7 separate regions of the Homo sapiens genome follow, and all the other regions are linked to region 6. The links are contacts of gene promoters, found by promoter capture Hi-C in blood cells and fetal thymus (Javierre and others, 2016). All regions are on one chromosome and are shown on one strand. The core of a region is centred on a gene start or on the middle of the fragment in contact, and the rest is flanking DNA. Distances in the headings are between cores, read along the strand shown. Region 1 overlaps TMCC1 (transmembrane and coiled-coil domain family 1). Region 2 overlaps TMCC1 (transmembrane and coiled-coil domain family 1). Region 3 overlaps TMCC1 (transmembrane and coiled-coil domain family 1). Region 4 holds the start of RAB43 (RAB43, member RAS oncogene family). Region 5 overlaps TMCC1 (transmembrane and coiled-coil domain family 1). Region 6 holds the start of EFCAB12 (EF-hand calcium binding domain 12). Region 7 overlaps TMCC1-DT (TMCC1 divergent transcript).

The links. Contacts are between HindIII fragments. The CHiCAGO score rates a contact against its expected background, and 5 or more counts as called.
Region 1: a fragment that was not itself captured here is called in contact with the fragment with the promoter of EFCAB12 in region 6 in 1 of 17 cell types (M2 macrophages); the score reaches 5.1 in M2 macrophages.
Region 2: a contact is called between a fragment that was not itself captured here and the fragment with the promoter of EFCAB12 in region 6, in 1 of 17 cell types (M2 macrophages). The highest score is 5.3, in M2 macrophages.
Region 3: a fragment that was not itself captured here is called in contact with the fragment with the promoter of EFCAB12 in region 6 in 4 of 17 cell types (M2 macrophages, M0 macrophages, M1 macrophages and 1 more); the score reaches 10.2 in M2 macrophages.
Region 4: a contact is called between the fragment with the promoter of RAB43 here and the fragment with the promoter of EFCAB12 in region 6, in 2 of 17 cell types (naive B cells and total B cells). The highest score is 7.4, in naive B cells.
Region 5: a contact is called between a fragment that was not itself captured here and the fragment with the promoter of EFCAB12 in region 6, in 1 of 17 cell types (M2 macrophages). The highest score is 6.4, in M2 macrophages.
Region 7: a contact is called between a fragment that was not itself captured here and the fragment with the promoter of EFCAB12 in region 6, in 1 of 17 cell types (M2 macrophages). The highest score is 5.0, in M2 macrophages.

What each region holds. Positions count from the first base shown.
Region 1 is chr3:129,767,722-129,770,911 of GRCh38, reverse strand. The region is part of intron 4 of TMCC1 (transmembrane and coiled-coil domain family 1); the gene reads left to right. Among named protein-coding and RNA genes, the nearest start is that of TMCC1, 120 kb to the left of the region's middle. The HindIII fragment of the contact is 249 bases long and covers 1,776-2,024 here.
Region 2 is chr3:129,751,200-129,754,210 of GRCh38, reverse strand. All of the region lies in intron 4 of TMCC1 (transmembrane and coiled-coil domain family 1), which reads left to right. Among named protein-coding and RNA genes, the nearest start is that of TMCC1, 140 kb to the left of the region's middle. The HindIII fragment of the contact is 921 bases long and covers 863-1,783 here.
Region 3 is chr3:129,792,360-129,795,305 of GRCh38, reverse strand. All of the region lies in intron 4 of TMCC1 (transmembrane and coiled-coil domain family 1), which reads left to right. Among named protein-coding and RNA genes, the nearest start is that of TMCC1, 100 kb to the left of the region's middle. RefSeq lists an enhancer at 1-1,003. The HindIII fragment of the contact is 693 bases long and covers 1,149-1,841 here.
Region 4 is chr3:129,120,124-129,123,324 of GRCh38, reverse strand. RAB43 (RAB43, member RAS oncogene family) reads left to right here and starts at 1,521. Exons shown (of 3, transcript NM_198490.3): 1 at 1,521-2,039. The coding sequence starts at 1,836. All of the region lies in intron 11 of ISY1-RAB43 (ISY1-RAB43 readthrough), which reads left to right. RefSeq lists silencers at 1,292-1,511, 1,532-1,711 and an enhancer at 2,492-3,201. The HindIII fragment of the contact is 2,447 bases long and covers 262-2,708 here.
Region 5 is chr3:129,685,777-129,688,986 of GRCh38, reverse strand. All of the region lies in intron 4 of TMCC1 (transmembrane and coiled-coil domain family 1), which reads left to right. Among named protein-coding and RNA genes, the nearest start is that of PLXND1, 81 kb to the right of the region's middle. The HindIII fragment of the contact is 1,484 bases long and covers 736-2,219 here.
Region 6 is chr3:129,427,143-129,430,371 of GRCh38, reverse strand. EFCAB12 (EF-hand calcium binding domain 12) reads left to right here and starts at 1,736. Exons shown (of 9, transcript NM_207307.3): 1 at 1,736-1,932. The coding sequence starts at 1,884. RefSeq lists a silencer at 1,550-1,599. The HindIII fragment of the contact is 3,479 bases long and covers 1-2,405 here.
Region 7 is chr3:129,900,050-129,903,122 of GRCh38, reverse strand. TMCC1-DT (TMCC1 divergent transcript) reads right to left here. Exons shown (of 3, transcript NR_037893.1): 2 at 1,263-1,416. Among named protein-coding and RNA genes, the nearest start is that of TMCC1-DT, 7.7 kb to the right of the region's middle. The HindIII fragment of the contact is 6,418 bases long and covers 1-3,073 here.

The DNA of each region.
Region 1 (3,190 bases), core at 651-3,150, 340 kb before region 6:
TTATGACTGTTTAGGGAACCAGAAATTTAATTTCATTTTAACCTAACTGTACTCAGTCTTTTTCTTCAGTTGTACGAATTGCATTTGCAAATGTAAATTTGTGCAGTATCCCTGAATCCAAAGTCAGATTATGCATCCTATGGGTATGAGGAAATTTCCACACTCTCCAGATTCTCTAAATGGATGATGTTTTAGAATTAAAATCTATGGTTTAGGAGTGTTTTTGTAGTCTTCCAAGTGCTAATCATTTTATCTATTTTATTTTATTTTATTTTATTTCATTTCATTTCATTTCATTTCATTTCATTTATTTTATTTTATTTTATTTTATCTTAAGACAGGGTCTTGCTCTGTCACCCAGGCTGGAGTACAGTGGTGTGATCACAGCTCACTGCAGCCTCCGCCTCCTAGGCTCAAGCAATCCTCCTGTCTCAGACTCCTGAGTAACTGGGACTGCAACCTCTACCTCCTGGGCTCAAGCAATCTTCCTATCTCAGCCTCCTGAGTAACTGGGACTACAGGTGTGCAACACCATGCCCAGCTAATTTTTGTATTTTTGGTAGAGATGGGGTCTCACTATGTTGGCCAGGCTGCTCTCCAGCTCCTGGCCTGAAGTGATCCTCCTGCCTCAGCCTCCCAAAGTGCTGGGATTACAGGTGTGAGCCACTGCATCCAGCTGAAACATTTTTTCTTAATGCCTCAATAAATACGTATAGTTAGAATTTTTTTGCTCTTTAATTGGACCTGAGATAAATACAAGATCCCTTGAAGCCCCAGATAGTTATCAACCTTAGAGTTGCTTCCCAAGGACAGTGTTCTCCTTTAATAACATATAAGAAACAAAAGTTCAATTTTGCTTCAGAAATGCAAGGTAGGCCATTTGAATTTGTGACACGTGACAAAATGAGTTAACAGTATGGTGGCTGAAATAATCCTTTGGTAATCATCACTTTATAGAAATATCTTTAATTGCTAAAGGAAAGGGTAGACAAATTCTTCTCCGTTGCTTTTGGTCCAAGTAGGGCTTCTGATTAATACTGAAGAGCATTTAAAAAGTACTTTTGCCGTTTCGCTCTTTAAATCAGTATAGCTTATGTCCCCTGAGGAGTGTGGTTTAATTATTCTTGGTTCATTTTTACCCCAGGCCAAAAGTAGAAATGTAAAACATACAAGTTTTATGTTATTTCCAGATGTTAGTGTAAGAACATTAAGTGGATGGGGTCTAATGTGGATTTGCTTTAGATTAGGGGTGTCCAATCTTTTGACTTCCCTACACCACATTGGAAGAAGAAGAATTGTCTTGGGCCACATATAAAATACACTAACGATAGCTAATGAGCTTGAAAAAAAATTGCAAAAAAAAAAAAAAAAATCTCATAATGGGCTGGGCGCAGGGGCTCACGCTTGTAATCCCAGCACTTTAGGAGGCTGAGGCAGGCAGATCACCTGAGGTCATGAGTTCGAGACCAGCCTGGCCAACATGGTGAAACCCCGTCTCTACTAAAAATACAAAAATTAGCCAGGTGTGGTGTCGTGCCCCTGTAATCCCAGCTATTCAGGAGGCCGAGGCATGAGAATCGCTTGAACCCGAGAGGCAGAGGTTGCAGTGAGCCGAGTTCGCACCACTGCACTCCAGTCTGGGTGACAGAGCGAGACTCCGTCTCAAAACAAACAAAATCCTATAATGTTTTAAGAAACTTTATGAATTTGTGTTTGGCTGCATTCAAAGCCATCCTGGGCCACGTGCGGCCCGCTGGCAATGGGTTGGACAAGCTTGCTTTAGATGATCAGATTTGGCAGGGAGGTGTGAAGGGCTTGAAAGAAGAAATTATAAAGTTCCTGTTACTCCCTTACCTTCTCCTGGCTCTGTATCTAAAGTATGCTGTCAAGTTCTTTACCCCTCACTTTCTTCCCTTACGATATTGTGAACTCTGTGAGGTCAGGGTTGAGGCTGATTTATCTGCCTATCTCCAGTGAGTGCAGGGATAAATCAGGAGCCTAACCCTAGTCATTGTTGACAAGCTTCTGTTTAGCCTTAGGGAGGTCATACTACAGCTCTTTTTGTCTGTTTTCAAAAGGATTAAATAGAAAAATCATAGTTTCTAGAGACAGAGGAGACCTTGAAGATTACATAATCCACCTTTATTTTACAGATGAAGAAACTGTGCCTGTCTGGCTCTTCTAAATATAAGAATACATATACTTTGAATTAAATAAATAGCAGTGTTATATTTTATCCTCATTTTCTCTTGTGGGATGTATTTCATTCGGGACTATGTGCACAGTCCTAAACCAGATCCATGTTTTTCTTTGCAATTTAGTGCTCAAACTGTATTCATGAGAAAAAGAATGGATGGTTTAAGTTTCTCAGGGCAGAGGACAATAGAGAGGGGAACAAACAGAATCTAATCAGTGGGACTTACAATAAATGAAAACAGGATACCTTAGATCTAGTTGCTTAAATCAGTTCTCACTAGGTACTTCTCACTAAACTTGTTTTTGTATAAACTTGCAGACATATTAAGATCTTTATTTCTAAATATATGGGCATTTAAAAAATGATTTTCAGAAGTTGTTTGGATTTAGGGACTCCTTAAATTTTATTTTGTAATGAAACATCTTCATACTCGATTGTGAGGGATACCTATGTCCTGGCATCTATTATAACATACCGAAAGCAAACTGAAATATGTTTTTTGTTTGTTTGTTGAGACGATATTGCTCTGTCACTCATGCTGGAGTACAGTGGTGCAGTCATACAGTGGTGCAGTCATGGCTCACTGCAGCCTCCACCTCCCGGGCTCAGGCAATCCTCCCACCTCAGCCTTGCAAGTAACTGAGACTACAGATGCATACCACCATGCCCAGCTATTTGCATTTTTTTGTAGAGATGAGGTTTCACCATGTTGACCAGGCTGGTCTCAAACTCCTGGGCTCAGGTGATCCTCTGGCCTCAACCTTCCAAAGTGCTAAGATTACAGGCGTGAGCCTCTGGGCCTGGCCTGAAATATGTATTTATTTTTTAAGTTGGGGGTGATTATTTACTTTGCAAAAGAATGTTTCCCTTTAGTAAAGCATTCAAATGAAGTACCGATACATGCTATAACAAGGATGAACTTTAAAAACATAAGTGAAAGAATCCAGACACAGAAAGTCACATATTGTAAAATTACATTTTCATGAAATATCC
Region 2 (3,011 bases), core at 74-2,573, 320 kb before region 6:
TTTGTAGTTTTTCACATACAGATCCTGCATATATTTTGTCACGTTTATAGCTAAGTGCTCCTTTAATGGGAGGGGGCTGTGATAAATGGTATTGCTTTTTAATTTGGGATTTCAGTTGCTCATTGCTGGTACATAGGAATACCATTGACTTTTGTATATTGACCTTGTGTCCTGTGACCTTACTGAAGCAACTTATTTTTTAGTTCAAGAAGGTTGAGTTTTTTTGTTAGTGGGTCTTTTGTTTGGGGGATTTTTTTTTTTTTGTAGATTCTTAGCATTTTCTAGACAGTTATATTACTTATGAATAGAGTTTTATTTCTTTCTTTGTCATCTGTATGCTTTCTATTTATTTTTCCTGCCTTATTGCACCAGTTAGTACTTCGTGTTGTTAAATAGGGCTTGTGAGAAAATATATCCTTACTTTGTTCCAGATCTCAAGGGAAAGCATTCATTCTCTCACCATTAAATGTGATGTCAGCTATAGGTTTTTCATAGATACCCTTCGTTAGTTTAAGGAAGTTTCCTTCTATTCTTACTTTGAGAGTCTTTATCATGAATGAATGTTTCATTTTAGTAAAAACTTTCTCTGCATCTATTGATATAACATCTGGTTTTTAAAAAATTTATTTAGACTTTTGATATGGTAAAATACACTGATTTTCACATGTGTAACTAGTCTAGCATTCCTAGGATGAATCCCACTTGGTTGTGATGTATTAATTATCCGTTTTATATATTGCTAAATTTGATTTGCTAATGACTTTTTGCATTTATGTATTGCTTTTTAAAAGGAAAAACAATACATAATTAACTTGCTGAATATTACGATGTCGAGTGTGAAAAACATCTGCTTTGGAAAGCTTGATTTCTTTATTACTGCCTTCCTAAAATTCACTCTTTTTCCACATTTCATACTCTGGAAGATTGGATATATATAAAGTTAGGACTTCAGATAAAAATCTGAGTCATTTGGAAAATTGTACATTTTTAGGTAAACATTGGACAAAAAATGTGAGATGATTCTCTATTCAGACATATATTTGGCTACTTATTTTATATGTGTGTTTTAGATCCTGATGTGGTTTGGCTCTGTGTCCCCACCTAAATCTCATGTCACATTCCCAGAGTTGGAGGAAGGGCCTAGTAGGAGGTGACTGAATCAAGGGGGCAGACTTTCCCTTTGCTGTTTTCATAATAGAGTTCTCATGAGATCCAGTTGTTTCAAAGTGTGTGGCACCTCCCCCTTCTCTCTTTCTGTCTCTCTCCCGCTGGCCATGTGAAGATGTGCCTGCTTCCCCTTTTGTGTTCTGCCATGATTGTAAGTTTTCTAAGGCCTCCCCAGCCATGCTTCCTGTACAGCCTGCAGAACTGTGAGTCAATTTAAACCTCTTTTCTTCGTAAATTACTGAGTCTCAGGTGTGTCTTTATAGCAGTGTGAGAACGGGCTAATACAGGTGCCTTATTCTTTGAAATTGATTTTTTTTATCATTTAGACATTTGGTACTTACTGTTTTAATGTATTAGTTTTTGTGTGTGTGTGTGTGTGTGTGACAGTCTTGCTCTGTCACCAAGGCTAGAGTGCAGTGGCGTGATCTTGGCTCACTGCAACCTCTGCCTCCCAGGTTCAAGCGATTCTTCTGCCTCAGCCTCCCTAGTAGCTGGGATTACAGGTGCCCACCACCACACCTGGCTAAATTAGATTATTTAATATACCTTTTGATCATTCATTAGTCATTTTCAAGTGGCTGGGGAATTGGGATATATTTAATCCAGAATAGAAGCTTTAAAGAATGACCTCCCAGGGTGAGTATAGTTCTGGTTTTGATTCTGATGATGACTATTTAGATTTTGGTTTTTTTAAAATCCCCTGCAGGGATACATGTAATCAATCATCAAAAATTCCGTTCTAGTGAATATATGGATGTTAATATCATGAGTGATAGGTTTAACCCAGATCCATAAAGGGAAGAGATAAGGTCACAGCTCGCTCATTCAGAGAGTGAGGGAAAACATTCTGCTGATGCCATTTCTCCTTCCAGAATGCTACCTAGAGAACTGTTGTAAGTTTATGCTGACAGCTGGGTAATAGAGGATTGCTGTGTTGGGAGGTCAGGATTAAGGTGGTCCTTTCATAGTATAAGCATTCACTTCTATCTAAGTTAGTGCAAACTTTTAGATTATGCATAAATTAAATAAATATCTTCTAACCCATCCCATACATTTAAAGCAATTAGGTTCCAGGAACAAGGGGTTCTAAGGCCTCACCATCCTAACAGTAAATAGAAGATAGGCAGCTTGAAGTCCTACAGATAATTCAGTATGAATGTTGAAGATAGAAAAGATATTATAGTGTGCTGGGCATGGTGGCTCACACCCATAATCCCAGCACTTTGGGAGGCTGAGGTGAGCGGATTATGAGGTCAGGAGTTTGAGACCAGCCTGGCCAACATGGTGAAACCCTGTGTCTCCTAAAAATACAAAAATTAGCTGGGCGTAGTGGCATGCACCTGTAATCCCAGCTACTCAGGAGGCTGAGGCAGGACAATCACTTGAACACAGGGCCGGAGGTTGCAGGAGCCAAGATTGCACCACTGCACTCCAGCCTGGGTGACAGAGCAAGACTCTGTCTCGGAGGGGAAAAAAAGATACTATTGTGTTTAGGGTTGGTTGGTTGGTTTGAAGAGACAGGGTCTTGCTCTGTCAGAAAGGCTGGAGTGCAGTGGTGCAATCATGGCTCACTGCAGCCTCAAACTCCTGGGCTCAAGGGATCCTCCCATCTCAGCCTCCCAAGTAGCTGGGACTAGAGGCACTTGCCACCATGCCCAGCTAATTTTTAAATTTTTTTTAGAGATGAGGTCTTACTATGTTGCCCAGGCTTGTCCTGAATTCCTGGCCTCAGGTGGTCCTCCTGCCTCAGCCACTCAAAGTGCTGGGATTATAGATGTGAGTCACTGTACCCAGCCTGGAGTTTTGTCTTTTTTTTCCCGAATTTTTGTTTTGTTTTGTTTTTT
Region 3 (2,946 bases), core at 246-2,745, 370 kb before region 6:
AGATAGGAATATTTTTATCTTTGGAACTGCTCTTACAGTTATTTTTCATACCTCTTTACCTGCATTGATTCACTCTGAGCTGTTCCTTTTGTTTTGTGTGTAGATTTTAAAAAATTACTTCATTCCAACAAGAGAGGGCAATTACCTCAGGAGGCCACTTTAATGTGTTTAACTTTGGCACAAGTTGAAGTCACCGTCGGAGTATGCCTCTCTGCACCTGACATTCCTTCCTGAGGCAGGACCCCTCCCTGTGAATAAGAGGAAAGGCTTGGCCAATTATGCTAGACAAAGCCGCACAGCTGCCGAGCCCAGCTGGGAGGAGTTTCCTTCTTGAGCAGGGAGCTGGTACAGCCAGGGGCTTGCTTTTCACCACCTCCTTTTTTTTCACACTGCCTCACCTTAAAGGATTACCTAAGGTGGAGGTAGAGAAGGGTGCGTTGCTGTCTGCAGTGGACACTCTCTGCTGCTGGGACGGCTGAAGAGGGGAGGAATTGGTGCAGTTGCCTGTCTCCTACTTGGAGCAGATGCTGTCTGACCCCAGCACACCACTCCTCCTCCCACAGAGACCGGAACATCAGGTCTGTCCTCTGGAGTTTCAGGTAGCACCACAGCGGCATCCTCGCCTACTGGTCTGGTGGAAAGGGAAGGGGTGGTCCTTGTGTTTGGACCCCTCACAGCTGACTCACAGGAAGTGCTAGAAGAGCTTGGCACTGGGCACAGCGGCTTCAGGATTACTGCCCCACCCACCCTGCCCTCTCCCACGTAGGTTTTCCAGTATCTCTTGATAGAACAATGAAGGCTTTCCAAGTTTGCTAAGACTCCCAGGGAAATTCTTTGCACTTCTCTGGCAGTCTTCAAAATGTTCTGCCACCGACTTTCCCAAGAAGCTGTTATTTAAAAAACCCTTCGTGGATTGCTTTGTCTGAAGATCCTCTGGGTGATCATGGTTCAGCGCTTTAGCCTCAGGAGGCAGCTATCCAAGGTGGGTTGGTAGTTTTCTATGTTTGTGGAGGGGAAACTCTCACTTGCTTCAGCATGGTTCCTTTTTCTCTGGAACTGTTCTGTCAAGCCTGCCGTCCTCCAGCGCTAAGGAGGGGCTGAGGGAGGAAGCACTGCCTTTTGTTCTTTTATCTGACAGGCACAAAGCTTGAAGGCTGACTGCACTGGCAGCCCCAGATTGTGTTCCCCTAAAACTGCAGCTGTCATCTGAATTTGGGCAAAGTTGTAGTTTGCTCCTGAGATAGAATTTCCAGAAGGGTGTGTGTGAAAGAGATAATTGTGGGTTGAAAGTGTATATTTAATAAGCAATTAATCTGTCAGCTTGTGGACCAAGAGGAGAAAGCCTTCTTCTCTGTGGAATCAGTGCTTTCATACATTTCACTATTAAACTGAGAAAAACTACCACAAAATAGTTTAATGAGCAAGACTGGCATTAAAATGTTAAAATGAGTGGTTGTGTTGAGAAACTTGAATACTTAATGAAGTATATGAAAAGCAGTTACAGAGAGGCTCACAAAGCAGTTTTTACAGAGTTCTGATGAAAAGCAGGTTCCATGTGTGCAGCTTTTGGGGAAAAGTTTTTTTAACCTGAGAAAATCATACTTAAAATAGTAAAAAGGTGAAGCACGCATTTAAGAGGGGATGGTGATTTATGAAATCCACTCTGCCTGTAGCCAGCCCTCCTTGACCCAGTCATTTAGTGCAGAAACTAATATGGAAAGAGGTGTGGTAAGAGTTGAGCTTTATTTCAAAACCCATTGTGTTCTTTAAAAGCTCCATTTAAAAAATGTAGCAGTTGGTGGCTCAGTTGTGTCACAGTTCATTCCCTGAATACAGAAGCTTAAACAAATAGTAAGTCTGTAGGCATTCTTCACTGCCTTGGCTGTTAATCAGAATTGTTAGATCCTGAAATGTATTGTGATCTTAAGGGAAAACCTTTAGTTCCCTCACAGGTGACCCCAGTGTAGAGTGTGTGCACTGATGCAGAAATGAGCAAAGTGCTTGCTTCCATCCCTGTGTCACATATGCATAGTTTTTCTTGGGACTTCTAAGCCTAACGGGATTTTTAGGAGTATTAAAATATATTTAACTTGCTCCCTTCCCCCCTGCTCCATGGTGTGTGTGTGTGTGTGTGTGTGTTTGAAGGCCTCCACATTTCTCTTACACAATAAAAAGAATCATTTTTGTTGCTCTTTCAATGTCCTCCAGTGCTTGTATTTTCATATATATAGTACATTTAAAAAGCAGATGGGTAGATATCAGGGCAGTGACGTTCCTGCACAAGAGTGTCTGATAGTTGAGAGCCAGGTGATAATTTTCTAATTAGAAGGTAACTATATTATGGGTATTTTGCTGCCAGTACTTCTCTCCCAATTATTTTTTAAACTTTACCCTCTTCACTCTATACTATGTATATGACTGATTTACAAAAAGTACACTTTTGAAGGAATGGGATGCATCCTCTCTTTAGGTACATTACATAAAAACACTCAAAGATGTAGCCTTTTTTCATTCCTTTTCCTGGTACCCTTATTGCTCATTTGAATGTGATTTATGGATCCTATAATGGATGATCTAGACCAAAGCTAAGGAAATTTGTTGTCTATCAGATTTACTGTTCTATCAGAGTAATGAACTGAAAAAATATTTTTAATTATTTCAGTCTGTAAGGCACTTAAATATGAAGGAGAAACCGAATAGTTATGTTAGTGAGTTTAAAAAACAAACTCAGCAAATGGATCAGCGTGGCCAACATAGTGAAACCTCATCTCTACTAAAAATATAAAAATAAACCGGGCATGGTGGTGCGTGCCTGTGGTCCCAGCTACTTGGGAGGCTGACGACGCAGGAGAATCGCTTGAACCCAGGAGGCAGAGGCTGCAGTGAGCTGAGATCATGCCACTGCACTCCAGCCTGGGTGACAGAGCGAGACTCCGTCTTAAAAAA
Region 4 (3,201 bases), core at 272-2,771, 310 kb after region 6:
GGCACTGGGGGACTTGCTCTCTGCGAAGTCTCCTTCAGCTTGAAGACTTTCCCCTTTTCTCCTGGATTTTTGTCTGCTTTGTCCACAGGTGCATTACAAGGCCCCAGGACAATGCCCGCCTGTAGTAGCCATTCATTAAATATGTTGAATACCTGGAATTGGAGTGCCACAAGGAAGCTGTCTAGAGGGGTAAGGGGTGCTGTCAATTCCTTCCCATCTTCGGAGCTGGGAAGCCCAGTCCTGTTGGATCTAGTATAAGCTTCTTACAGATGTTTGGGTCTCCTTTCTCTGAGGCGCCCTGGTTCACTGGGCCAACTCAGGAGTTGGTCTGCCCTTCCTCAGAAATCCCTTCAAGTTTTTCTGTTCCTCTTCCTAGACTGGTGCTTTTTGGCTGGGTCAGTTTCCCAAATGGGCCTGTAGCTGCTCTGAGCTGGGTCATCCAGCCGTTTAGCAGCTGCTTCAACCACTGCTAGGCTGCCTTTTGGAGACAAGAGCTCCCAGCTCCTCCTTCTGGCCTAGCTTCCCATCAAATGGGGCCCTGGGTCCTCTCCTCACAAGGATTTTGGGCTCCTCCGCAGTTTTGTAGCCAGCCTGGATTCTGGCCTTCTGCAGCCTGCTCCCTCCCTTCCCTTCCGCCCCTGGGAAGAGCGACCCCCACCACTCTCGGAGACTGCACTGCCCGCCTGTCAGAGTGGGCACTCAGGTGACACTGCTGTGGTCGTCCCCTTCCTCCGTGATCCATTCCGGAGGGGGTCATTCTTAGTCTAGGCCTGCAGGCCCGGAGCTCCAGCCATGGTCTCCGCCTGTCCCTGACCGGCGGTCTGGGAGGCAGCAGGTAGGGGATCCCGGGCAGGCGGACCAGGCCTGGGTGGGGGGCGAGCAGGAGGCGCGGGACAGCACCTGGGGGTCCCAGCTGATGAAGGGTCGGGGTGGGCAGCGGTTTGGGGGCCAGACGGATCCGCGGTGTGGGCGCGCCGGGGTGTTGATGGAGGAGGGGCCGAGGTGCTGAGGGCGGGGTCGGGCTGGGGTCGGGGCTGAGGGCGGAGTCGGGTGGGGCGGAGTCAGAGCTGAGGTGAGCCTGAGGGCGGAGTCGGGGCGGGCTGAGGTGGGCCTGTGGGCGGAGTCGGGGCGGTGTGCTGAGGTGGGCCTGAGGGCGGAGTCGAGGTCGGGCTGAAGGCGGAGTCGGGGAGGGCTGAGGTGGGCCTGAAGGCAGAGTCGAGGTCGGAGCTGGGGACGGAGTCGAGTTCGGGCTGAGGGCGGAGTCGGGGCGGGCTGAGGTGGTCCTGTGGGCGGAGTCGAGGTCGGGCTGAGGGCAGAGTCGGGTCGGAGTCGGGGCGCGCTGAGGTGGGCCTGGGGGCGGAGTCGAGGTCGGAGCTGAGGGCGGAGTCGGGGGCGGGGACGTAGGCGGAACCCGGGTCGGGCTGAGGTGGGCCCGAGGGTTGGGCTGGGGGCGGAGTGGGTGCCAGCCTGAGGGCGGAGCCGGGGGCGGGCGGGGGCGGGCTGGGGCGGGCCTACAGGCCAGACTGGTGTGGCACGGAGCTGAGGACCGGCCGGAGCTTTGCGGAGGGCCCGGCTTGGCGGGTCCGGGGGGGAGCCGAACCCGCGGGGCACCGGGTCCGGGCGGGGCCGAGCCGGGCCGGGGCGGGAGCCAGCCGGGGTGGGGCGGGGCCGAGGCCGAGGCAGGCGGTCGGCAGTGCTGGGGGTTCAGGTGTTGCGGCGGCTCCACGTAGCCAGGCGGCCCGTGGGCTGGAGCGGGCGGAGCTCGGCCCGCGGCTTGCGTGAGCTCAGGCCGGTCCCAGCGTCCAGAGCGCCGGCCCTTCGGCTTCTTCTAGGCCATGGCAGGGCCGGGCCCAGGCCCGGGGGACCCGGACGAGCAGTACGATTTCCTGTTCAAGCTGGTGCTGGTGGGCGACGCAAGCGTGGGCAAGACGTGCGTGGTGCAGCGCTTCAAGACCGGCGCCTTCTCGGAGCGCCAGGGAAGCACCATCGGCGTCGACTTCACCATGAAGACGCTGGAGATCCAGGGCAAGCGGGTCAAGGTGGGAGGCCGGCCAGGGCCCCTGGAAGGCGCTCCCTCGGAGGGTGGGGCGGGGGCAGCGGAGCCCCTGGCCGCGGCGAGCGCACCCCGCGTCCATCTGAAGTTTCCTTTGGCTTCCCCTTTTTCCTTCCTCGGGTCGGAGCAGGCCTGGGCCCCGGGGTCTGGGCCGGGTTCAAGTCCTCAAAGCGCCGGCCGTGGGTTGCTGGGGGGGGGGGGGGCGAGGGAGTGTGGAGGAGGCGGCCCTGCCCTCCGGAGCTCACACCCTAGGAGGGGACTGTGCTCCAAAATAACTTTAGCCATTGGAAGGCAGGGGGTTAGACTCCCCTGTTCCAGGTACTAGCGGAGCGCCTTGGAGTGCGGAGATCAGACCCCCCACCTCCATCCACCGCGATGGCAGCCCCCAGCTCAGCCCACCGGCGGGGCACTCAGCCAGAGAACTGCATCCCCACCCCAGGACTAGGAGCGATCAGGAAGTAGTTGCTTTTAGGACCAGAGGGCCAAAACTTTTTGTCAGAATTTCCGGCCTGGCCACGCCTCCCTGCAGTCTCTTTGTGGACCTGGTGGTGGAACTTTACTCGACTAGGGCCAGCCCCGGTTCCCTCCCCCAGCTGGAGTTTGATAGAAACTGAAAACTTCACAGATACCGGAAGGTGGGGGAGAGAACCAAGCTTTGGCAATGGCTCCGAATAAAAACAGCAGGATGTGGTTGCCACAATGTCCTGGCAGTGGTTTGATAAATATTTGTGATGAATGAAATCAGAGTTTCTTAACCTAGGTGTTAGTACTCCCTAATCAACCAGGAGATCCTGGGCTGAAGGCACTCAGTAACTTTTCTGAACCGCACTGTACAGAAATCTTTGCTTGCTTTCATGGTTTCGAGCCCCCATGATCTTCAGGACACCCTCAGGGCACAGGGCTGGGACGATCTCTGCCAGGGAGATGGGAGTCACTGGAGCCTTGCTGCTGCTGGGCTCTGCCTCTCCGGGTGGCTCTAGGCCTGCTCCTTGTTGCCTTTGGCTAGGATATGTAGCTCTTTGTCTTTGTTTCTATAAAATTGGGATAATTTCTGGGTGTTGCCTCCCTCCTGCCCCAAGGTGGAGAAAAAAGTAAGTCAACAGTCTTTATGTGTCCACAGTGCCTCTCAGTAGATGTGACGGGGAAGC
Region 5 (3,210 bases), core at 228-2,727, 260 kb before region 6:
TGCTTTTTCTTTGTATTTATTGAACCAAGCTACCTAAACAGTGTTATTTTATTTAGAATGTTTTTAATCTTCTTTAAGCGATTCTTTCAACCTTATCTGATTTAAATGAGAAGACAAATGTGAATGTTGAATTAATACCCTGTAGCTTTAAATCCAACCAGTGTGGTGCTTTTGTCTTTTATAAAAGATGCTCACAGCTGGAGAAGAGAGGCAGATACTGTCTGTGATCTCCATTCTCAGAGTCAAACTATTCATTTGCATTAGCTGCTCTAGCAAACTGCGTGCGCGCGCACACACACGGATGCTTGTTTGGCAGAAGCTTTCTGTTTATTCAGCACAGAGTTCTCCTAGGCTCCCAGATATAGAAAGCTCTAAGAGTTGCTACAGGAGATAGAATTGAAACTATACATAGGCTGAGGTGGGCACTGCGGAGGATTGGCTATGCGAGGGTATTAATGTGGTGCGGCTGTACCTGCCTGTTTTGTGAAAGTCACTTCTCTGAGACTGTGAAGGTGAGAAGCCCAGGGATCCACTAGAAGCTTCACTGCGGCTCTTTGGTGGGGGAAAGCATTCCCAGTGGTAGCTGTCCTCATTTGCAGCGTTATTCTCGGAAACCAAGTATGTGCAGCAGTGACAGACTATGCCACAGCTCCTCTGCAGTTTGGAAGCTGGAACAAATGGAAAGAGCTTATAGCCAAGAGAGGTTGTGATTTTTTTTTTTTTACCATCCAAGCTTTCTCTGGCAGTGCACAAATGAAGGATGAGCTTTGTGGCAAGCAAAATCAGCAGACTGCCTGACAGGGGGTTTTGGTAAGATAAATGTGTTGTGATTTTTTTCTTATTTTTTGACTTTTCTATATCAGCTGTATGGAATTGCTTCTTAGCAATAACTAAAACATTTTGCAAAATCATGTTTGATGGAAAAGGATGACCAAGGGAACCAGAAGGAGAAACATAACTTGTGGTCATTCAGTTGTGACCTTCAGAGATAATCCAAGTTTTCTCATGTGTCTCTCAACAGACAGAAGCCAGAAATTTCCAGAGCAAAGAATGCAGACTAACAAACCTCTTTTCTTTTCTTTGAATAGTCATAATTATGCTTTTTTTTCCCTGCTTTTTCTATAGTCTGAAGCGGGAGAAGGAAAAATAAAGCCTTCCTCCTGTTATAGAGTTGTTGCCACTGGAACAGTAATAGGCTGAGAACATAAGTATGGAGGTGGAGGAAGGCAGGATAAGGAGTCTGCTATTTTCATAGCTGTGCGTTGGTGGGTATTTGTCTTGGGTTCATTGTCATTGCTGTTTGATATCAAGTGGTTGTGAATGCTGTATCTCTTTGCCTCTACTATGACTGAATCTCTTTTATGTTCTCTTTTGTATATTTTCTTTGCCAGACTCAATTCTATTGATATGAAGCCTTTTTCTGTTACTGTTTATACATATTAGCCGTTATTAGAGAAAAAATAGTTGTAGAGAGTAGCCCTCCAATATTTATGGACCTCAAAAAAGATAAGGATGTTGTTTTTCTCTTTAAAATGTATGTTTTACTTTTAGCAGATTTTGGAGTCTTGCTTCTGGATTCTTTAATAAGTGTTTTATTACAAATTAGAGAAATGAGTTGCATTAGATTTGCAAAATCCTACCAGAATCACCTTGCTTTAAGTTGGATCTTATTTCTTATGTTTTTTTTCTAAACATTAAAGTTTACTTTTCCTCATCCTAACTTAGGCAGGTGTTACTGGAAGGTATATTCCTATCTCGGAGAGCCAAGTTTCCTAGCTGCTTAGAGTGGCCACAGAAGAGATCCATTGACACCTGACTTTTTGCTGACTCATTGGTTATGTAAGCCTTGTAAATACAACTCTCCATATACTCCATTAGGTTACTGGCAGGTGCCCTCCTCCCTGTTTACTGACCTTTTCCTCTCAGCATCCTTCTGTTCCTTCCGTAAGCCTTTTTGGTAAGATGATCAAAACCTTTCAACCAAGTCAATTCTAAGAAGCAGTGAATAGATAAATCCTTTTTATTTTTCTCTTTTTGAATTGCTACTTTCTTTAACTCTGTTTTCATCTCAATTATGATAAAATTCCAAATTCTCTATTTTCTTGGCATGTGAAACCTACTGTAATAGTGCTTTTCCTCATTTATGGCCTGATTAAAGTAGCAATCTCCTTTTCTATCTTTGAGGACTCAGTTCAAATGTGTTCTTGTTAAAAGAAGCTTTCTGTGACCTCCCAGACTAAAATAGATTTTCCTCCCTTACACTATTCCTTTTCTCATAATATTCTGTTCTTTTTCTTTGTAGCACTTTACACAATTTATATTGTTTGGTTACTGGTTTTTCTCTCTCTACCACTTTTCCCCACTCAGCCATAAACCTCCTGAAAGCAGACACTGTTTGTTCATCATTACATACCCAGCATTTAGCAAAATGGCAGGCTGAGAGTTGAAGAAAGGCAGCTAAGTAGGCAATATTGCAAATGCACTATGGTGAGAAAAAATAGGATAAGCACTGGGCACTGAAACAAGGCCAGTGTGACTAGAGTGGGGTACGTGGGAAAGGAAACATACTGTAAAATGAAGATCTAGGTCAGGCATGGTGGCTCACACCTGTAATCCCAGCACTTTGGGAGGCCGAGGCGGGCGAATCACCTGAGATTGGGAGTTCGAGACCAGCCTGACCAACATGGAGAAACCCCATCTCTACTAAAAAATGCAAATATTTTGTATTTGTATCTAGAGAGGTAGATCCAGGGCCTAACCACATAGGACTTTATAGACTGTTCAGATTCTTGTTTATTCTAAAATTGTAGGAAGCTACTAAAAGAATTTAAGTATTGAGTGATTTAGGCCTTTTAAAAAAAATAATTTCTTCAGCTTAAATGAGAACCTACGTGAATGCAGGTAGATCAATCAGGATGAGTGGTCCAGGAGAGAGATGATAAGAGTTCATCATAAGGTGGTAGCAGTAGAGGTAGATGGAGAGTGTTGTGTATTATGATGGAAATTTGGAAAGTAAAATTGATTGGCCTTATTGTTGGATCGGATATAGGTAGAAGGCAGAAGATGTCAAGAATGGCTCCTAGGCTTTGATTTGGTTTGGTTTTGGCTTGTGTAGCTTGATAGACAGATGCTTTTCCTGAGATATGGAACAGTGTAAGAAGATCTGATTTAGAAGAGGATTATGATGTTTGGTTTTGGACATGTAGATTT
Region 6 (3,229 bases), core at 487-2,986:
TTACTATGTCTTAATTACCAACTACCATTTTAAGGTATAATTTGAAAATTAAATTGATTGAATAAATGAAAAATAAATCAGTTGTTCAGGAAACTGCCTTTGTTGTAGGGCAGTGTGAACCGAATCAGGCTGCAGTGTGATGCAGAGGTAGTTGGTTGTTTCCACTTTAGTGAGTGTCAGTTTTTAGAAGGATAGATTTTGACCAGAGAACAGGAAAACTGGCCACACCTCCCTCTCCCCAAGGCAAACCCACTTTATAGTTTACCATCACATTTTCATTTAACAAACATCCAAGTAGCATTCACAAAGTGTAAAGCCCTGTGGTGGGGAGGGGCACAAAGATAAACAAGTTCTGTACAGACCCTCACAGAGAGAAAGAAGGGCACCTAATAATGGAAGGGAACAAAAGCGGTAAGGAGTAGGGACAAGACACCCAAAGAGGGTGGAGAGGGGCCTCTGAAACCTTGGGCCCAGCTGGGCCTGGAGGGTGGGGCGAGCTCACCAAGCTCAGGGCATCAGGTGTGGCTTTGTGGTAGGGCTGGTGGTCACATACCTTCCCCCAGCATCTCCATGGGGAGTGTGGGCCCGTGTGAATGCAGGAGGCGAGCTCTGCACCAGGGGAGCTCAGGACACAGCCAGGTTGCTCAGGCTCTAGGCCTGGCTTTTCCTGTTTCTTGCAGGTGAGGTTGCCTGACCTCTGTACCTGTTAACTTGTCTTTTAAAAATGGGATAGTGGTGTCTACCTCACACAATGATGGTAATTATGAAGTTCAGACATGTAGTGCTAAAATGGTACCTGGCTTGCAAGAGTGCTGTGTGAATGTGGCCCATGGCAACAATCTGTTTGCAAGCGTCACAAAGATAGCTTGTCTCAGCAAAGGAATAAGGGCTTAGGTGTTTCTCTTTAACTTTTTAAAAATTGAGCTAAAAGCCACCATTTAACCATTTTAAAGTGTACAGTTCAGTGGTTTAGTACATTTACAGTGTGCAGCCATCATCACTAATTCCAGAAGTTTCCATTTCTTTTTTCCACTCCAAAAAGAATCTCTCCACCTGTTAGCAGTCACTTCAATTACTCACCCCATCCCCTAGCAACCATTCATCTACTTTCCGTGTCTGTGGGTTCGTCTATGCTGAACATTTCACATAAATGGAATCATACAGCACGTGGCCTTTTGTGTCTAGCTTCTTGCTTAGCATACTGTTTTGAAGGTTTATCCATATTGTAGCATGTACTTCATTCCTTCTTATGGCCATCCTATGGATATACCTCATTTTGCTTATCAGTTGATGCACATTTCAAGGGTTTATTATTATTCTCTGGTCCTCAGGTTCTGTAACTCCAAACCATGGCACCCTGCCATAAGCGGGGCAGAACATACCCAACACCTCTATCTGGCCACAGCTCACTTTGGTTCTTCCTAACCCTCTGGAGGAGGCAGGGCCTATTTTTCCTATGAGAAAACTGAGGCCTAGAGATATGGAGACCTGCGGAAGATCCCACATTTCACGGGAAAACCGGAGACTTTCTACACTGGATTCAGGGACTACTGGGCCGAACAAAGAAATCCCGCCTTTCACCAAGCCCAGAACTGGGCGGGGCGTGGATTTGCTCGCTGCCCCTCCCAGAATTGGACGAAAACGAGGTGGGGCCAGCAGGCGCTCGGCAGGGCGGGCTCGCTCTTAACACGTGACAGCGCTCAGCCAATTGGCGCGGGGCGTCCGTAGCCACGGCAACAGGTTGCTTCTGCAGTCTGAGCTGAGCGCCTTTCGCACGACTTGGAGTTACGGTTTATCTGATACCCCGGTACCCCTACGCAAGCAAGCCCACATCGACACACATTCACACACGCCCTTCAGCACCCCCTCCCAGCACCACGACCATGGACGACGACTATGAAGCGTACCACAGTCTGTTCTTGTCGCTGCTCGGTAAGCCCCGGGAAGAAGCGTCTGCAGGGAGCGCTCAGCGCCCTAAGGACGCGTGAAAGTGGGGTGAGGGCAAAAACTCAGCCACAGATATTGTGCCGACCCCCTCTGGGTGAAGGGTTGCCATGGAGTCGGGGGCAGGTCATGTACATTTCTGAGATTTCTATCTGAGCCTAGTTGGAGGAACCAGAGGCCCGACCCATGTGACGGGAGCCCTCCAGCTCGCCCTGTTTCTCTGCAGGACATTAATGTATTCAGTACTGGAGGAGAGGCATGGAGAAGACGTCAGTCTTCAAGGTTTTGGCAGTAATGTGCTGGGGACCAAGTTCTTGGCAAAGCAATGCAGCTTCACGGGTAAAGGACAGAGATAAATGGATAATTACAGAATAAGAAGGGGTAAATGCCGGGCCCAGGGATGACACCCAGGAGTAAAAGGTGTGCTGAGGGTATGGGATGGGGAGGAACAGTTCCAAGCTTTTGGAAAAGATCTTTACACTGGAGCTTAAAGGATAAAAAGGAGTTCTCCAAGCCAAAAGGGGAAGGAAAAGCATTTCGGGCAAGGAAACAGCATGACCCAAGAGGTCTGGTGTCTCTGGAAATGAGGTGAGAGAGGTCAGAAGGGACAAGATCATAAAAGATACTGCAAGCCAGGAGATGGAGAGGCCACTGGGAGTGGCAGGACTGGATTGGGAGCAGTCAGAAAAGACCTGAGACTGAGTTGGCAGACTCAGAATGTTGGTGTGGGGAGATGAGAGCTGGGGGCTATAAAGCTTGAAGACTGAAGGTCTTCTCCATGCCGCTTCTCCAGCACTGAACACATTAATGCCCAGTGGAGAAACAGGGAGAGCTGGAGAGGCTGGCCACCTTTCCCAGGCACACAGGTCAGGGCTCTGGTCAAATGCCCAAGCTAAAGATGCTGGGAGGTGAGGGAGAAGGCCCAGGCTAGAGGGAACTACGGGACTTGGGGGCTGGTTGGTCAGGAAACACAGAAGAGGCAAATAAAGATGGTTCTCAAGTTGGCAGCTGGGGGACCTGGTAGATGGAGATGTCTTCCACAGAGATAAGAGAACGTACTCAGAGGACCCAGTTAGTGGGGGAAGGGGCACAAAGACAAATCCAGTCTTGGTTGGTTGAGTTTAAGATCCTTGTCAGTAGCTGGGCACAGTATCTCACGCCTGTAATCCCAGCACTATGGGAAGCTGAGGCAGGAGGATTGCTTGAGCCCAGGAGTTTGAGAATAGCCTGGGCAACATAGTGAGATCCCATCTCTACAAAATTGTTTTTTAAAGTTAGCCAGGCC
Region 7 (3,073 bases), core at 547-3,046, 470 kb before region 6:
CCTTGGTGGGAACTTTGTCTTCCTGCTTGAAGTGGTTCCTTCAAACATTGCAAATTTTTTCCTAGTCCCATACCAGGGACATACCCCATTCCATGCATCATATGTTGACTTTGAGGGCTATATAATTGTTCTGGAATTAGAACTTGTGCTCCCCATTGTTGTAATAAATCTCTCCTCCATAAATTTATAGGTACAGAAGTTACAATTGGTTGAATAGTCCCAGGTTGTCCATCGGGCCCTTCACAGTGCAAAATATAACTACTTTGATATACTTCAGGGGCTTTACCAACTCCAACTATGTTAAATTGAGCGAGTTGAATTGGCCAGGAGGATGACCAGTGCTGTAGAGAAATAACTGAAATGTCTGCTCCTGTATCTACCAAACCTTTAAATTTCTTTCCCTGAATAGTTATTTCACAGGTAGGACATTTATCAGTAATTTGATTCACCCAATAAGCTGCTTCACCTTGTTTATTTGTGCTTCCAAATCCTCCTGTTCGTTTAATTTCACTTTTCCCCATTTCCACATATGGCACAATCAGGAGCTGTGCTATGCGCTCTCCTGGCTCTGCTTTCCAGGCAACAGAAGTAGATAAAACAATTTGAATTTCCCCATTGTAATCTGAATCAATGACTCCTGTATATACTTGCAGTCCTTTTAAATTTAAACTAGATCTACCTAGAAGTAATCCTATAAGCCCCACTGGCAACATCTGACTGGAGACAGGAACATTCTTTAACAGTCCCATTACAAAAGGATAACCTTGTCCATACTGATTAATAGCTTGTTTAAATTCTTTGAGTAATTTAAAAGGAAAAGGCTCAAATGTAGCTATAATATTTCCCTGTTGATCTGGGGGGTGTATTCCAACAGGGACTGCCAAACCTCTAAATCACCCTCTCTTCTAGCTTGCTGGATTCCTGCTTGAATAGAACTGAGAGCGGTCACTCGAGGCACTGCTCGGTCACTGGGGCAACTACTTTTCACCCAGTGTCCTCTGGAAAAGAAAGATCTGGAGGGTCAGGCTACTCTTTTTCTTCAAAATAATGAGGGGGTGCAGAAGGGTAGGGAGGAACCTCTTCCTCCTTTGCCGCTTTAGCTTTAGCTGGCAAACAAACCTGCTCTGTCATGTCTTCTGTTAGTTCATTATACTTTCCTTCCTCCTCATCATTAGGGTGAAAAGGTTCCAAGGTGGAATGAACCAGAGCCCACACTTGTCCCATTGATACCCTGATGCTTCCGAGCTCCCCTTCTTACTCACCACGGGGATTGCTTAAGAGTACTCAGGTGTCCTCCAGCTTAGTTCCACGTTCTCCAACCGTCGCTCTGGCGACCCTTCAACCCAGGTTCGAGCCCCATGTATGGACACCACTTGCTGAGACCAGCTCGGTTGTGGAGACCCTAACCCAGTGGCACTAGAGGAATTAAAGACACACACACACAGAAATATAGAGTGTGGAGTGGGAAATCAGGGAGCTGACAGCCTTCAGAGCTGAAAGCCCTGAACAGTTTTACCCACATATTTATTGACAGCAAGCCAGTGATAAGCATTGTTTCTATAGATTATAGATTAACTGAAAGTATTCCTTATGGGAAACAAAGGGATGGGCTGAAACAAAGGGATGGGCTCTGGCTAGTTATCTGCAGCAGGAACATGTCCTTAAGACACAGATCGCTCATGCTATTGTTTGTGGTTCAGGAATGCCTTTAAGCGGTTTTCCGCCCTGGGTGGGCCAGGTGCTCCTTGCCCTCATTATGGTAAACCCACAACCTTCAGCGTGGGTGTCATAGCCATCACAAACATGTCACAGTGCTGCAGAAATTTTGTTTATGGCCAGATTTGGGGGCCTGTTCCCAACACTATCCTTTTTTTTTTTTTTTTTTTTTTTGAGACAGAGTCTCACTCTTTTGCCCAGGCTGGAGTGCAGTGGCATGATCTCAGCTCACTGCAACCTCTGCTGCCCAGGTTCAAGCGATTCTCCTGCCTCAGCCTCCCAGGTAGCTGGGATCACAGGTGCCTACCACAGAGCCCAGCTAATTTTTGTAGTTTTTAGTAGAGACAGGGTTTCACCATCTTGGCCAGGCTTGTCTTGAACTTCTGACCTCGTGATCCACCCACCGCAGCCTCCCAAAGTGCTGGGATTACAGGCGTGAGCCACTGCACCTGGCCCTGATTTCTATACTCTTAATATTAATTGGTTAAGTGCCTGAATGCTAGACATTGCCTCACCAAAACCAGAATTATTTATATATATATATATATATATATATATATATTTTTTTTTTTTTTTTTTTTTTTGAGACAGAGTTTCACTCTTTCGCCCAGGCTGGAGTGCAGTGGCATGATCTTGGCTCACTGCAATCTCCACCCTCTGGGTTCGAGTGATTCTCCTGCCTCAGCCTCCCCAGTAGGTGGGATTATAGGTGCGCACCACCACACCCAGCTAATTTTTGTACTTTTAGTAGAGACGGGGTTTCGCCAGGTTGGCCAGTCTGGTCTTGAACTCCTGACCTCAGGTGATCTGCCTGCCTCAGCCTCCCAAAGTGCTAGGATTACAGGCATGAGCCACCACACCCAGCCTTATATAATGTTTTCAGCAACAGCACAGCAGCATTTCTCCCACATTATAGTTTTGCAGCAGTACCTATCACTGTGCCTCCTTTCTCTCTAATGCTCTTTTCTGAGTTTTCTTTCCTTTCTTTTCTTTCTGTACTTTCATCTGAATACTTACTGCTGCCTGTTTTCCCATTCATAAATCCACTATTTTGCTGCTTCTAATCTGCTCTAAATCTCATCTAATGATTTTTTTAATAACAACTTTAGTAGGGTATGCTGTATATCTATTCATACAATCAACTGTACCTATTTAAAATGTACAGTTTGATGAGTTTTAAGTTATGTATACACCCATACAACCACAACCATAACCAAGATGCAGATCATTCTTGTGGTGCCTAATGTCTGTAATTCCAGCACTTTGGAAGGCTGAGGAGGGAGGATCACTTGAGCCCAGGAGTAGTTCAAGACCAGCCTGGGCAACACGGCAAGACCCAACACAAGAAATTTAAAAA